3 separate regions of the Homo sapiens genome follow, and regions 1 and 2 are each linked to region 3. Evidence: promoter capture Hi-C in 16 types of primary human blood cells and fetal thymus (Javierre and others, 2016). All regions are on one chromosome and are shown on one strand. Each heading gives the region's core, a stretch centred on a gene start or on the middle of the fragment in contact. The rest is flanking DNA. Distances are from core to core; before and after follow the strand shown. Region 1 overlaps LOC102724152 (a long non-coding RNA gene). Region 2 overlaps QKI (QKI, KH domain containing RNA binding). Region 3 holds the start of AGPAT4 (1-acylglycerol-3-phosphate O-acyltransferase 4).

Evidence for each region. Contacts are between HindIII fragments. The CHiCAGO score rates a contact against its expected background, and 5 or more counts as called.
Region 1: a fragment that was not itself captured here is called in contact with the fragment with the promoter of AGPAT4 in region 3 in 1 of 17 cell types (M0 macrophages); the score reaches 7.1 in M0 macrophages.
Region 2: a fragment that was not itself captured here is called in contact with the fragment with the promoter of AGPAT4 in region 3 in 2 of 17 cell types (total CD8 T cells and non-activated CD4 T cells); the score reaches 9.3 in total CD8 T cells.

Annotation. Positions count from the first base shown.
Region 1 is chr6:163,662,739-163,665,586 of GRCh38, forward strand. LOC102724152 (a long non-coding RNA gene) reads right to left here. Exons shown (of 2, transcript NR_134620.1): 2 at 1,628-1,919. Among named protein-coding and RNA genes, the nearest start is that of QKI, 250 kb to the left of the region's middle. The HindIII fragment of the contact is 4,562 bases long and covers 1-2,848 here.
Region 2 is chr6:163,416,111-163,418,843 of GRCh38, forward strand. All of the region lies in intron 1 of QKI (QKI, KH domain containing RNA binding), which reads left to right. Among named protein-coding and RNA genes, the nearest start is that of QKI, 2.8 kb to the left of the region's middle. The HindIII fragment of the contact is 1,716 bases long and covers 459-2,174 here.
Region 3 is chr6:161,272,572-161,275,341 of GRCh38, forward strand. It overlaps AGPAT4 (1-acylglycerol-3-phosphate O-acyltransferase 4), which reads right to left and starts at 1,490. Exons shown (of 9, transcript NM_020133.3): 1 at 1,367-1,490. The HindIII fragment of the contact is 1,627 bases long and covers 439-2,065 here.

The DNA of each region.
Region 1 (2,848 bases), core at 147-2,646, 2.4 Mb after region 3:
ATGTAGATTCAGTGACAGAGCCCAGGCCACTGAGCCATTTCCCTCTTTACTCCTGGGCTCGGGAGTAACATATTCAAGGGACCTCTAAACAGAAATATTGGTTAGTCTGTGGATTTGAAGCAAAACAGAGAAAGGGCTTGCCCAGATTCCTCCCCGTGCTTCACGGCAGGACCCAGAGTCCTCAGGCCCTTCTGGACCCCCGCCGGCTTCATTCCTAGACACTGAGCCATGGTCCCTGCCCTCTGGTTGCAGGGGTGACATGGGCATATAGAATGACAAACTCCAAAGCTGACTCAAGGCCACGTGGGGCTGAGTGTCCAATGGAAAAGGAACAGGAGGGTGGCCCGGGAGGTGGTGCAGAGCCCAGCGCTAGGGCCAGTGCACTGGGGTTTCAGCACCCGAATGGCTGCTTATCAGTGGTGACCTTGGGTATGTCCATTGTCGTCTTAGTGCCTCAGTTTCCCCAACTGAGAATGGTAGCTAATAATAGTACCTACAACGAGGATTCGATTAGTCCTTCCCAGAAAGCCCTAAGCAGAGTGCCTAGCTCACAGAAGCTGTTCCGATAAAGGCTAAACTGAAGAGCCTCCTTCCTTGACCTATATGGCTTCTATAAGTTCATGGGAATGAGCCCTCTCCTCTGGTTGGGCCGAGCAGAGGAGGCTCCATGGAGGAAGAAGGATCTAAACTGGGCCTTGGGAGATGGTTAGGGTTTTGTTAGGTGAGGAAGACAAGGGAGGGGGCTCTGGGAGGGAGAACTGCGAGAACAAGGCCTGGAGGCAGGGGAGGTGGAGGGGCCGCTTGCTTGGAGTTGGGGACTCAGTGCTGTTGGGTCGCCCACTCCTGATGGTCACCTTTCTGGGTGAGGAGCTGGTCTGGATGAATCCTGAGAATGAATCACGAAAGGATGCCATAGCTTCTTATGGAAACTCCACTGGCATGTGGGCATGGGAGCCAAGTTCATGTGCCGGAGAGAAGCCGCCAGGGCTGGCTGCGGCAGAGAGTTTATTTTGGACAAAAGTGAGGGACATCAAAAGCAAGCTCGAAGCAAGCAATGGCTGAAGGCAGGGAAGGAAGGTATTATCAAATGTCATCATGGGGACACCGTGACTGCCAAATGCCAGTCAGATCTGAGTCAACATTGGGATATTTTGGGGTCATTATAAAGACTCTGAAGGCTCAATGGTTTTTCTCGCCAGGACACAGTCCTTGCATCCTGCCTGAAGGCTTTCAGGTCATGCCCTTTGCTGAGCCCTCCTATGTGCCCACCTTAATGTCGCTGTGTCTGGAGACCCCCCATTGCTGGTTTGAGACAGCTCCCTCTTCCTTCTACCTGAGCAGTCCTCCTTCTGCAACCAAGATGAACACTCTCACCCACAGTTACAGCCTTCCCACAATGAGCGTATCCCCCATTGCTCCTGGGCTCCTCCACCAGCCTTAGGCCTCATCCCCTCTTGGGATCACTGATGGCTCCTTTTCAATGATAGGAAGAAAGCTGAATCCCTGTGAATATGGTCTATATGGCATTTAGCAGCTTCCTGGGAAAGAGGGGGTACAAGTGGTCAGGACTATTCCTGGATTGCAGCCTTGAAACTAAGGGACATAATTGCAGAATCTAATTTTTGGCTGAGATTTCTCTAAGTGCCATATTTAATGTGACACCACTCTGTGGGGGTTGCTCTCACCCTTGGTTGGTCAGAGGTATCTGGAATACCCAGAAGGTTCTCTTGAACTCCAGAGAGAAGCGAGGGCCTTCTTGGGGCAGATTGGACTTCTGGATTTGGGCCTGATGGAGACAGCACTTCCAGGGTCAGCAGATACAGGCATTCTGGAGTGGGCTGAGAAGCATCTTGCCCGCTTGCAAAGTGGCACCCATTTCCACGGGCTGACAGAGTCCTATGCGGCAGAGGGACGGTGTCCTAGCAAATGAACGAATTTTGGGTGAAACACAGTTCTTCACAAACTTTAAATGCAAGAAGTTAAAGACTGACCAGTTCAGATAGAATTGGCTTAAAGAAGCAGACTGGATACCCGGCTCAGAACCTGCAAGCATGAGGATGCAGCAGGGCTGGACCAGGTGAGCGTCTCTGCCCCCAACCCTTATGAGTCAATCTTTCAGGGCACAGCAAAGCCTTCATCAGTCTTGGTTTCTCTTGGGATTAAAAGTAAATTATGTAATGGATTTTGAGTATATGGTCTCTAGTGCCCTAATTTCTCTTGAAGGAGAGAAATTATCCAATAGGAAGGGAAATTGACAAAAAGCCTGCATTGACTCCATCAGTTAATCAACAGGGATATATCGGCAAGGTGATTAACTCTACTAGAAGACCACAGCTCTGGCCAATTCTATTTTAAATCCAAGTAAGGGTGGTAGAAAATGTATATTTTCAAGTCTGGCCTAACAGTTATATACATACACAGATTTCATAGATTGATGCAAAGAAAAGGTATCTGGGGAGAGGCAGTTTGTGTCATTTATTCATTTCTTGAAAAATTGAGTGTTTGCTGTGTCCAAGCCACCATTTTTAGCATTTTGGGACACACACTTTACACCCAGAGACACACACAGACACACACCCAGAGACACTCATACACACAGACATAGGCTAATACATACAGAGTCACACTCACACAGACACACCCAGAAACACTCATACACACACACACAGTCACACACACAGAGTGACACTCACACTGATACACACACAGACACAGTCACATACAGACATACACCCAGAAACACTCATACACACACACACACACACAGAGTCACACACACAGAGTCACACTCACACAGATACACAGACACACAGACACAGTCACATATAGACATACACCCAGAAACACT
Region 2 (2,733 bases), core at 67-2,566, 2.1 Mb after region 3:
AGTTAGAAGAACTTGGGCGGAGGGTTTGCTCCCGGGGACGCAGCCGCCTGAGTTTGTAGGACAGGGTTTCGAGACGTTTGGAAAGGGCGAAATAAAATTGAGCCAAAGTTTCCAAAAAGCTGTATGGAGCGCTGTGGGGAGTGAAGAATGACAAGAAGATTAATGTTGACCAACTTTGGAATTTCCTTAAGAAGTTCTCATAGCAGTACCTGAAGTATTAATTTCTAGTAGCTGTGGGTTTCTGTGGACGCCTAGAGAAAAAAAAGACCACAAAAAAAGTCTGTTTCGAAAATCGACTGGCCAGGAGTTTGTTTGTTTTTTTTTCCTGCTTAGAGGCACCACCGGAGGACTGTGTAAAGGAAACTGAAAACTACAGGTTGAAGAGATGAACAATGGAGTTTAGATTTTTCGCAAGAATTTCGAGATTTTAAAAATAGAGTCGGGGAACAGGAGTTTGAAGCTTGGGGAGTTGGAATGTCACTAGAGAACAAAAGGCCGGAAATGTTTCCATGATAAAAAATGGTTAAAGAAAAATCCCAGGAGTTCTGTTGTCTTGAAAGTCATAGAAACAACTTAAAAGTAGAAAATGGTTAGGTGTTACGGCTTTCTCGTCGTTTTGCTTCCGTATGTTAAACATACAGCACTCACCAACGTTGAAATGGGCATTTTCCGCTGTTGGAACAGCAAATCTGTTAATTTCAAGTTGCTCCAGAGAAAACCTGAGCTGTCCCTTTAAGGGGTTCTGCTTTTCCTATTTGTGTTGGCATTTGAAAGATTGTGGAGGCAGAAAACTTTCTGGAATGTCAAAAAAAAAAAAAAAATGCTGGAACTCTTAAATTGAGTATTTCCAAATGTGAGCGCTAAGGGGCGCCAGTTATTTTTTAACCATGGAAATGGTTGGAACAAAATGTGTAACATACTCAATCTGACTGACCTATATTAAATTTAGTTGAAACTTAAGTTATAGATTATTTGATTTGTCATAATGTGTTTATATAGTGTTTTCGAACATTGAAAATACTTTCCTTAAAATTATTGGCACAACTTTATGACGTTTCAAAATAACACTCTTACTGTCTTCTCCTTGGCATATTTTGGTTAAGTTAAAGTTTTAGTAGTATTAGTAACAATTTCTGGTGAAAGTTTGTTTTCTTGAGTGCAGTTGTTTAGAAGGAATCCTTTATCGACGATAAAATGAAAATAGGCCTTGGCAATATTTAGGGTTAATTAAAATTAAATTGCATTCCTGAAATGTCGAATTCAAAGACTATAGGAGATTCCAAAAAAAAGTTTGAAAATACTTTCACCTTATGTATACTATTTAAAAAGCTGCATACTTTTGCGTTCTTTAGTTTTAAAAGGCTTCTTGTGCTTTTATGTTGATCTAAAATCTCTAAATTTAGAGCTGATTCCTTGTTATCAAGTTTCCAACCTTAGGCTTTAATAATTTTTAATCTTTCAAATCCAGAAATTTCAATTATGTCATTGTCTCTGACAAAGGCTTATTTCTCTCTGGTTGGAAATAGTACTCGTTTGCGTTTTAAATGTAAGAGACCACTATGATATCTCCTAGATAATGTTTGTTTCCCCTTCCCCTTTTAATGTGGTTTACTCCATCTCTTGTCTTGCTATCTTTAGTTTTAGCCTTGTCAATTCCCCAGTGTAAAGATTGCTTCTGTGTGGCATATAGTATGTTTAAAATGGGCAATATAATGACGAGGAAGTTTGATTGTTTTTTATCAGACCAGTACAAACATGCAGGAAAAAGGGCTATTCCTTAGTGTGGAATAAGCGGCTTCCTGTAATTGTTAGCCTTGTTATAAACTTAATTTGACTTAAGAAAAATATTGGTTTCTGAAGTCCATCACATTTTTTTTTCTGGATGATTTAATTGTGAAATTTGGCATCTTGTGCTTTACCCCTTTGTGGTTTGTCATTGTCCAAAACAAATTGATCATGACTTTTGTTTCTGGTTAGGCATTACTTTTTTTTTTTTGCCTATAATGCTTGGCTGAAAAATTACTTTTAAATTTAGATAAAATTTAGTAAAAATTTTACTTTAGTGATTGGTTTGATGAAGTTAACATCGTGCTTAGAGTAGATGTATTTTCTGATAATTAGGAATTTTAAATGAGATTTTAAATTTTTTATTTTAAAATATTTTTCAAAGAATAAGCTTTTTAAAAATATGCTTGTCAGCCTAAGAATTTCCATTTGGCTAGTTACAAATTTGAGGATTAAGTGTGCTGGTTTTCCCAGTTGATGAAGACTTGGATGTTTTAGAATGAGTATTTTAATTCCTTGCCAAGTTAACCTTTAGTCTGTATCTTGACTGTGGACAGTCCTTTTGTTTTACTGCTTGTTTTTGTTTTGTTTTGTTTTTTGCTGTTGCTGGTGGTGGGGGTGTGTGTGCCAGCTCTTCCACTGAAGTATCTTCAACACGGTTGTTTTTTAAAGTTGTGAATACATTTTAGGTTGGGCCCATCATAAAATATAAAGGACATAAACTTGAGTTTGAAACCTTTTATTGAAGATAGAGATGATTATAGGATTACACATAAAACCTAGGTCTTAAACTGCTCTACCTTTAGAGAGACGTTTTCAACTGAACCCTTAGAGCAGTTAATATATGGTTTTTAAAAAAACAGACTTTTCTTGTCATGAGAATGAAACAACAGTAGTTGAATGCAAATTGTTATAATAAAGTTTTGTAATTTAGAATCGAGAAGGTGA
Region 3 (2,770 bases), core at 240-2,739:
TAATAATTTTCTCATTTCATATTTTTTCTGAATAACAGTTTTTCTCCCCATAGAGAATATTCAGAAGATGGAATCCTTTTAACGTAGAACTCAAGATGTGCCCTGTTCTCCCTGCCCGCCTCCCATTTCCCTAAACACACACACACACACACACACACACAAACACACACATTCTCCCTTCTCTCAAGATACTTTTTTTCCAACTGAGAGTCGTTGACTAATCACAGATGAGTTAATCCTTCCACAGTTTTGAAAAAGTCTAGCAACCCTCACCTTGAAGAGAGTGAATAGCGTGGCTAATCCATCTAAGAACAATGCACGAAAACGAAAAACGGAGAATCCTGCCCGGCAGTTAATTTGTTACTCATACTTGTTGAACTTAAGATTTGGAGCTAAATAAGTGCAGATGAGAGCAAAGACCCATCTTTTAAATATTTAAGCTTTTAGGCAAACCTGGGCAGGCAATATCACATTTATCAGTGCGAATTCTCCAATGCTCTCTAAAACTTTATTTCAATGATCTCACCTCCTGTAAGGAATTAATTCCCCCTTAGCTTGACCACAGGATCAATATCTTATCTTAAGAAGTGTTTAGGTTTTCTAAAAAAAGACCAGACACTGAAGACTTACATAAACATCAAAGCATTCTTTTTTTAATTCCTCGATATGGAGAAATTCATAGGCCGAAAATTAGGTAAATAGAGAGGTAATTACCAATGCCTGTTTCCTTGACAACTCCCCTCCCCCACCCCTCCTGTGATAGGGAAAAACCAAAATGAAAGTGAGGAGGGGTAGCCACAAGCCATGCTGGATTTTAGCAAACCAAAGCAAGAAGCAGAGCAGAAAGCTGCAAACTAGACACAAAATACAAATAAATCAATGTATATCGGGGCTGCATATTGTGTAGTATTTTTGTGGTTGCCATAGAAACGTCAGCGACGGAAGAACATGTTGCATGACACAAAAGAGAGCAATATGTAATAGGAACATTCCCCCCACCACCACCCCCCGCCCAGCTTCGTCTATAGCAGAGAAAATGCTTTAGCCCCGGGAGGGGGCTGGGTGGGTGGGTAAATGAAGCCAGGAACAGCAGCTTGAAATCACAGCCCAGAAAGGGACGCTCACCCGGCCCAGCACAAAGCGAGGGTCCTTTTGTACCAGCAGAGCCTCTCTTCGCCTCCCTCCAGGCGCCCCCTGCACCTTTCCCCCGCCCGCCTTGCACTCCCCCCCCGCCCCCGGAGCCTACCCCTTCCAGAGGTCCTAAGGAAATCCAGCCCAGGAGAGAAAAATATGCTGGGAAGAGGAATGCAAACATCAGCCACACCCAGCGGGGAAGGTGCCTGCGAACGGCACCAGGACCACATACCTCCTTCCTGGCAGCCTTTGGCACATGGACTTAGAAACCAGAAGCTGAGATGGAGCCGGCTGGGTTCAGAAATTGCCACTAGTTTATAAGAGCTGTAAGTCAGCCAACACTGGAAAGAAAAAGCGAGACTCCACCCATGGGGTGGACCCTTCAGGAAGAAAAAAAAAAAAAAAGTGGTCCTCAGCTGACGTCTCTCCCCACCCATGTCACTTCCTTTTAAAGCTACAAGTTAGCAGTTGCCGAGAGGGAAGAGCGAGCTGGTGTAATATGAGTCACTCCCTTCCCCTTCCAATTAGTGTAAGGCAGTGCTTCAGTTGGCTTCACGTTTGAAATCGCTTTTGAAATCTGGCTCGGGAAGCTGCCAGGATAAAAAAAAAATGAAAGCCCCCTGGAAGTGGCCTTGCTTTCTCTCCCCTTTCTCCCAAATCCTGTTGCATCCCTGCGCCCTAACGGCTCCTCTAACCTCAACCCAGACTCCGGCTCCGTCTGTGTTGCAACCTGGAAATTGTCCTCAGTTGGCTCATTTTTAATTCAGCAAGCGTAGGATCAATATGCCCACCCTCAAAACTCTCCCCTCACCTCTCCTCGGTCCGCTGTGCTGGAAGGAGATTGCGTTGCACTCAGAAGAGTCCAAATCATCTTAAACAAAATAAGCCTCAGCACTCAAGAGATTGAGATGTTATGAAGTGGGATGAAAGAAGCTTGGAGGTCGATTGATGTATTTTCTGTTTTCAAACCTTAGCACCATGGTTGATTACCACTGCACAGGCGTGCACACACGTACTGTCGCATGCTCACATGCACGTGGCATTTACACAGGTGTATCAGAGAGGGTCTGGGCAGACCTTTATAGTAAAAGTGTCTTCACAATTTTTAAAAAGGGTGGGCTGTTGAAAGTCCAGAAATGCCAGGATCTAGAAAATTATTTCAATTTCAAAATACTGAGGTGTATTCCTTTCAAATGTCCACTATTACAGCCATTGTCAAAATAATATTTAACTATTTACTTGACTCCTGGGTTAACCTTGTTCTTTAGATGTTTATAATCTATAAAGGAAAAATACATGTGCTCACAAATAGCCCAAGCACATTGCAGAATTACTAACAGCTATGCAAGTGTCAAAACCAGTGTGTCATGAAGACAGAATAGAAAGTGCTTTTTTGATTGCGATGGGGGAAGGCATTGATCATTCAGGAAACAGGGTTTGGAGTGGGTCCTATGGGAGGTGGCATTTTTCTTGTCTGTGATGAGAGACGGGGAGAGTGAAGCAGAATGTGGTGGAAGAGAAAGGATATGTGAGGCAAACAAAAAAAGGATCAGAACAGAAACCCATTTGTAGCAATAACTTGTTTTAATATCCATGTGAAAATAAATTTGACCACAGAGTAATGCTTATAAAAGAT